Linked DNA regions of Homo sapiens: region 1 is linked to region 2. Evidence: promoter capture Hi-C in 16 types of primary human blood cells and fetal thymus (Javierre and others, 2016). All regions are on one chromosome and are shown on one strand. Each heading gives the region's core, a stretch centred on a gene start or on the middle of the fragment in contact. The rest is flanking DNA. Distances are from core to core; before and after follow the strand shown.

Region 1 (3,370 bases), core at 550-3,049, 58 kb after region 2:
GGAGGCCGAGGCGGCGGATCACAAGGTCGGGAGATCGAGACTATCCTGGTTAACACGGTGAAACCCTGTCTCTACTAAAAATACAAAAAAATTAGCCAGGTGTGGTGGTAGACGCCTGTAGTCCCAGCTACTTGGGAGGCTGAGGCAGGAGAATGGCGTAAACCCGGGAGGCAGAGTTTGCAGTGAGCTGAGATCCAGCCAGTGCACCCCAGCCTGGGTGACTGAGCGACACTCCGTCTCAAAAAAAAAAAAAAAAAAAACAGAACTCATACTGCTGAGCATGGTTGCATATGCCTGTAATCCCAGCTACACAAGAGGCTGAAGTAGAAGGATCACTTGAACCCAGGAGATTAGCCTGGGCAACATAGCAAGACCCCATCTCAAAAATATAAATATGTAAAAATAAATAAAAGGACTTGTACTTTTTAATAAGCACTCACCATGTGCTAGGTTCTGATTGCTTTATCTACTTCTATGCCATAAACTTTTTTCAAATTTATTTTGCATATTTTTAGATGCCTGCTATACACTGATCCTTGTGATAAGAGCAGCCAAGGTTCCTTGAGCACTCACCATGTGCTAGGGTCTAATTGCATTATGAACTGTTTGTCATTTAAATATTGCAGCAAGCCCATGAAGCAAGTAGTAATATTACCCCCAATTTTCAGATAAGAAAAATGAGGCATAGAGAATGTGAAAATAAATAAAATTTAAAAGCTCTTGGAACCCCAGAGAACACATTAAGTCTTGAGAGATGTGACTGTGATCTCAGCCATGGAGCATGGAGTTGTAATTTCTGCTCCTTAGATTATAGATTAACTCTCTTCTTCAGTGTTCTTCTTCTGTAAATTATGAGGAGAGACAAGAGACCAGACCTCCTTCTAATCACTGATCTTTGTGATAGATTAACTGCCTCCTTTTTTGTACCTGTATTAGTCTGTTTTCACCCATTATAAAGAATTGCCCAAGACTGGGTAATTTATAAAGAAAAGAGGTTTAATTGACTCACAGTTCCACATGGCTGGGGAGGCCTCAGGAAACTTATAATCATGGTAGAAGAGAAGCAGGCACATCTTACATGGTGGCAGACGAGAGAGAGAGAGAGAGAGAGAGTGTATGAAAGGGAAAGAGCCCCTTATAAAACCATCAGATCTCATGAGAACTCACTCACTATCACAAGAACATCATTGGGGAAACTGCCCCCATGATCCAATCACTTCCCACTAGTTTCCTCCCTTGATACATGGGGATTATGGGGATTATAATTCACTATGAGATTTGGGTGGGGACACAGAACCAAACCCTATCAGTACCTAACTCAGTTAAGGTAGCACTAATTACCTCCCAAATTTTATATCTTCAGTGTGGAATGTTAAATAGACCTTTCCTGAAAAGAAAAATATTACCTTGTCTAATTGGATTACTGTAACTATACATTCAGCCATATACAGAAAAATATTGAAATTCTGTTAAGCTTTCTAAACCTTATCTATGTTAAGTGACCTCAAACTTCTACACTTCAAAGTGCTGACTTCCATTCTTTGGAATCTGTCTCCCAGGCCATCTTCAAACTTTGTACTTGAATAAACTCTCTTCAAAATTCAAAATAAACTCTCTTCAAGTCAAACTAGATTCTGACGCTTATTTCAAGTTGACATTTTGGCAACCATGAAAGGACCTAAAGCAAGCCTCTGTTGATTCCCCACTGCATTGCCCACAGTTAGGATCCTGGTACCAGCATGAACAGTTTTCATTCACTTGGCTTCACTGGAGCCAGCAGAGGGTCTCCGGTGAAGACCCTCTCAGGTTTTGAATCTCCCTGATTTGGGTTGAGAATCAGACTTTACTCAAGTGACCCAATTCCACACTTGATGGAGCTGGAATTGAAGCTCTACTTTAAGGTAAGAGTTTTTGTCTGTTCTCTAGATATTCTTCTGTTCACAGATTTGTGGTTTTCACTTTTCTCTAAGGTTAAGTGTTATTTGTAACTGCTCATTAACATTTGTACAGCTTTTTCTCTCATTTGAATTTTGGTCAGGGAAAGAAAGTTTCTCTCTCTGAAAAGAGGAAGTGAATGTGGCTTAAGCAAAATTTGCATAAAAGAAAAAAACCTGGCTAAACTCTGAAGCTTGGTTCATTTGACATATCTAAAGTTGTTTTGTTTGTTTCTGAGTGACCAAAAAGAAAAACTTTCTATGAGGATGGCCAGGTGCGGTGGCTCATGCCTGTAAACCCAGCTCTTTTGGAGCCCTAGGCAGGCAGATCACTTGAGGCCAGGCATTCAAGAACAGCCTGGTCAACATGATGAAACTCTGTCTTTACCAAAAAATACAAAATATTAGCCGGGTGTGGTGACATGTGCCTGTAATCCCAGCTACTCAAGAGGCTGAGGCAGGAGAATCACTTGAATTTGGGAAACAGAGGTTGCAGTGAGCCAAGATCATACCATTGCACTCCAGCCTGGGTGACAAAGTGAGACTCCGCCAAAAAAAAAAAAAAAAAAAAGAAAGAAAGAAAGAAAGAAGGAAGGAAGGAAAAAAAAGAAAAGAAAAGAAAGAAAGAGAGAAAGAAAGAAAGAAGGAAAGAAAGAAAGAAAGAAAGAGAAAGAAAGAAAAAGAAAGAAAGAGAGAAAAGCTTTCTATGAGGATGAAGATAAGTACCAAAGATAAGGGACACTGTTTCTCCTGGCCAAAAGGCATCTTAGGCTAATAAGGTCTTGCGGGAGTGTCTGAACTCATTACTCTTAACATGCAATAGTACTGTAGGGAGTTCTCAAAGAAGAACACACAGGAAATCTTGCTTAACCTGGTGGGCACATATGAAGGGCTGATCTTCTAGTGCCTTAAGTGCCCAGGATTCCTGGCTTTCACCAAGACAGGGAAGAAGAGAGAAGTGATTCACTGGTGTCACCTCAAGGAATAATCCCCATTAAGCAACATACCAGATCAAAAACATCTTTCCCATTTCATCTTTGATCACTTAAAAAGAGAATCCAAATTATGGGCAATCATCCATCTAAAACTGAGTCTTCCTTTTTAAGGAGAGATCCACCTTTAGAAATTCCAGCTGGATTCCTGTATAATATTGTGGTGCAACCTCCAGTCAATATCTAGAAAAGTTGTCTTTCTTAACCCATGAAGACCCCAAACAACAATGACCAAAGTGGGCTATCTTTGAAATACCTAAATTAGCTTATTTATGTGCACAATTAGAAAAAGCTATTTCTAAAATTAAAGAAAATAATTGGGAGAGTTACTTCTAACAGTACTTAGAAGCATCTGAAAAGCGCTCTGACAAAGTTCTTCCTCTACAGGAAGAAAATTAAAAGCCCTCTAAAACCATTTCTAAATTAAAAAAAAAAAAAACTGCC
Region 2 (3,285 bases), core at 522-3,021:
ACTGTTTAATTCACGTTTGGGAATATTGAATGAATCCATTTTAACATAAGCACTGTGGTGCCATCTTTTTTCTCAGTACATTCTGTTTTCACTTTTCAGTTAATGCATTTTTTTTTTTAAAGATAACTCGCTGTTTCATTTTCTATGAATACTGTACAAAATAGGGAGGTATGGTCAGAACTCTGAATTGAATTACCCTAGTGTTGTGAGCACAGCATCATCACTAGAGTAATGTGCTCGGTGTTTGGAAGGAACCAGCGTGGATGGGCAAGAAGTTCTAACACTTTTGATTAAAAGTAACTTCCTGGCCGGGCGCGGTGGCTCACGCCTGTGATCCCAGCACTTTGGGAGGCCAAGACGGGCAGATCACGAGGTCAGGAGATCAAGACCATCCTGGATAACACGGTGAAACCCCGTCTCTACTAAAAATACAAAAATTAGCTGGGCGTGGTGGCGGGCGCCTATAGTCCCAGCTACTCAGGAGGCTGAGGCAGGAGAATGGTGTGAACCTGGGAGGTGGAGCTTGCAGTGAGCTGAGATTGCGCCACTGCACTCCTGCCTGGGCAACAGAGCAAGACTCTGTCTCAAAAAAAAAAAAAAAAAAGTAACTTCCTGGCTAGGCGCGGTGGCTCACACCTGTAATCCCAACAGTTTGGGAGGCCAAGGCAGGCAGATCACTTGAGTCCAGGAGTTCGAGACCAGCCTGGCCAACATGGTGAAACCCTGTCTCTGCTAAAAATACAACAATTAGCTAGGCATGGTGGCAGGCGCCTGTAATCCCAGCCACTCTGGAGACTGGGGCCAGAGAATCACTTGAACCTGGGAGGCAGAGGCTACAGTGAGCCGAGATCGCACCACCACAATCCAGCCTGGGCGACATTGGGAGACTCCATCTCAAAAAAAAAAAAAAAATCTTCCTTATGGTTAATTTATGTTCAAAGTCTATTTTTCTATTTTTTCTGTTACATGTGATCCAGAATATTAGTGATAAATTAAGAAAAAGCACCAACTTAAATGTGTTTTTGAATGTTTTATATTCTATAATTATCAATTTTCAACATTTATTTACTATTCCCCAAATAATTGTTACCAGGATAGTACTTTTATTAAATTCCTGATACGTTGTCAATATTGAAAAAACTCAACAACTTAAATGTACACGCACAGTTTGAAAAGCTGGAAAATAGTGAAAGAATATCCCCATACCCACCTTTCGTACCAGTCCCCAAACATCACGGTAAAGTTTACTGTCTCTTCCCAGCCCATGGACGGGAACGGGAACGCCTACGGAATATGTTGTGACATACAGTTGATCCTAGGTTCTCCAGAACAAAATGCTGCACGACCACCTCATCCTGGCCCTTTATTAAATATAGCTTAATTCTGGACACAAACAGTTCCCACCATGAAGAGAGAGTAGGTGACCGGAAAGGAGTGCGTCTTAAGCGCGTTCGCTGAATTTGCACCACCCAATCCAGCCCCGCCGCCCGGCGCCGCTCCTTAGACCTGGACCCCGGCACCCTCCCGCCGGGGCCGCACTTAGCAGTGGAAAGTCTGTCCTCCTGAAGAAGTTGCGCTCCGACCTCCAAGCATCAGGTCAAAAGTCTAACTCATTCTCTGACCTGCCGCCAATTAGAAAACAACTGTTGCCAATAAACGTGGTCGCGCCGCCTGTGACCTCAGCCGGGACGGACCCGCGGGCGGGAGCCTGCGGGGCGTGAGGCGGGGTGGGGCCCTGGCTCCCCTCCCCCGCCCAGCCGCGGCGTCTGACGTCCCGCGCGTCGGCGGCCGCGGAGCAGCGCAGGGAGCCAGGCGGGCTGCCGGCGGGTAAGGGCTTCTGCGACCCGGGGACCCGTGGGGCGTAGGCCGCGGAGGGAGAGCGCCGCTGCCTGGTCTGGAGAACCCCGCGGAGCTGGCCTGGCCCGACCCGGCCCGGCCCGGTCCGCGGCGCGGTGGTCGAGGGCCCGCGGCGCCTTCTGGGAGCGGGAGGGCCGGGAAGCCGGGCGTTGGTGGAGGGAGGCGTTGGGCTTCTGTCGCCGCGAAGCTGGCGGAAAAGGCAGTGGCCAGCGAGCCGCCTCGCCAGTTCCCACGACTCCCAGGGAGGTGGCGACACCCGCTTCCCGGGCCACCCTTTTCCCCTTCCTGACCGGGGTCCGTGCTTGCCTTCCCAGGTGGGGGAAGGTGGAACACTGTCCATCCCCTGGACAAAAACGCTGCGCCTCGGGGCCTTGAACCCGGTTTTGTTTGAAAGGAAGCAAGAGAAAATAAGTGTTTTTCCATTTAGGTGTGAAGAAAAAAATGACACTCCAATGGGCTGCAGTGGCAACCTTTCTTTATGCCGAAATAGGACTCATTTTAATCTTCTGCCTACCTTTTATTCCTCCTCAGAGGTAGGAAACCTTCAAATCGTTAACTAATAAATATTGGATCGCTCTTAATGTAAAATGGAAAAAGTTTTCTGAACATTAAAAAGTTTCGAAAGTCTTTGAAAATAAACTCACCTAACGAATTAGGTAGTATATAATGACAATATTAAAATAACATTTTATATAAAACTCTGTTACGTGTACAAGTGAAATAACTTTTTCTTCCCTTCTAAAAGAAAAGGCGCCTATACTTTTGATTCTGTTGATTACAGATATAATAAAGCAACGATTATACTTTTAACACCTGCCCTGCCTTGTCTCAGGTTTTACCTTTGTTTTATTGCCCTGAATTGGAGCCATGAACTAAATAAATATAAGTGGATAAATCATGTTTACAGTACAGCATGGGTGTAAAAGTGTTTCACTGAGGCACTGGAACAGCAATTTAGAAACCAAAGCCAATAAATTATTCTTAGTTTTCGCCTTTGTAACCGTTAGTTTCATTAATGACAATTTTACTACTTTTGATTTCACATAAAATTAATGAATGTATATTAAAAGTGCTGAATGTGAAAAGTATCACAACCATGTATTAGCATTAGTTCGTTAGTGACGGAACTTCTAAGGTCTTGAAGAACCAAGTACAGTGTTTCAAGCCAAGCAGTGGTTCATTTTACCCTTGCAGTAATCTACTTTTTAGTCGTTTAATTTTAGATCCAGAAATTTGATAGTATGAATGGGGAAATACACATGTAATAAAAATATTGCAAGATATTTGTTCATACTCCTGGCATAAAAGAAAGTATTTCATAAGTGAGATCCTAGAGATAACCCACTAAAGTGTATTAAAATCCCAGGACTGGGAGAAACTTCTTAAAGTTTCACCTTAGCTCAGGGTCCAGATAGTCTTTCACAACTC

The links. Contacts are between HindIII fragments. The CHiCAGO score rates a contact against its expected background, and 5 or more counts as called.
Region 1: a fragment that was not itself captured here is called in contact with the fragment with the promoter of BCAP29 in region 2 in 2 of 17 cell types (total B cells and naive B cells); the score reaches 6.5 in total B cells.

Annotation. Positions count from the first base shown.
Region 1 is chr7:107,636,698-107,640,067 of GRCh38, forward strand. No RefSeq gene overlaps it. Among named protein-coding and RNA genes, the nearest start is that of SLC26A4, 22 kb to the right of the region's middle. RefSeq lists an enhancer at 1,871-2,020. The HindIII fragment of the contact is 654 bases long and covers 1,473-2,126 here.
Region 2 is chr7:107,578,475-107,581,759 of GRCh38, forward strand. BCAP29 (B cell receptor associated protein 29) reads left to right here and starts at 1,772. Exons shown (of 8, transcript NM_018844.4): 1 at 1,772-1,827; 2 at 2,285-2,390. The coding sequence starts at 2,299. It overlaps DUS4L-BCAP29 (DUS4L-BCAP29 readthrough), which reads left to right. Exons shown (of 13, transcript NR_163941.2): 7 at 2,285-2,390. DUS4L (dihydrouridine synthase 4 like) reads left to right here. Exons shown (of 8, transcript NM_181581.3): 8 at 1-49. RefSeq lists a silencer at 1,630-2,119 and an enhancer at 2,210-2,279. The HindIII fragment of the contact is 6,036 bases long and covers 1-3,285 here.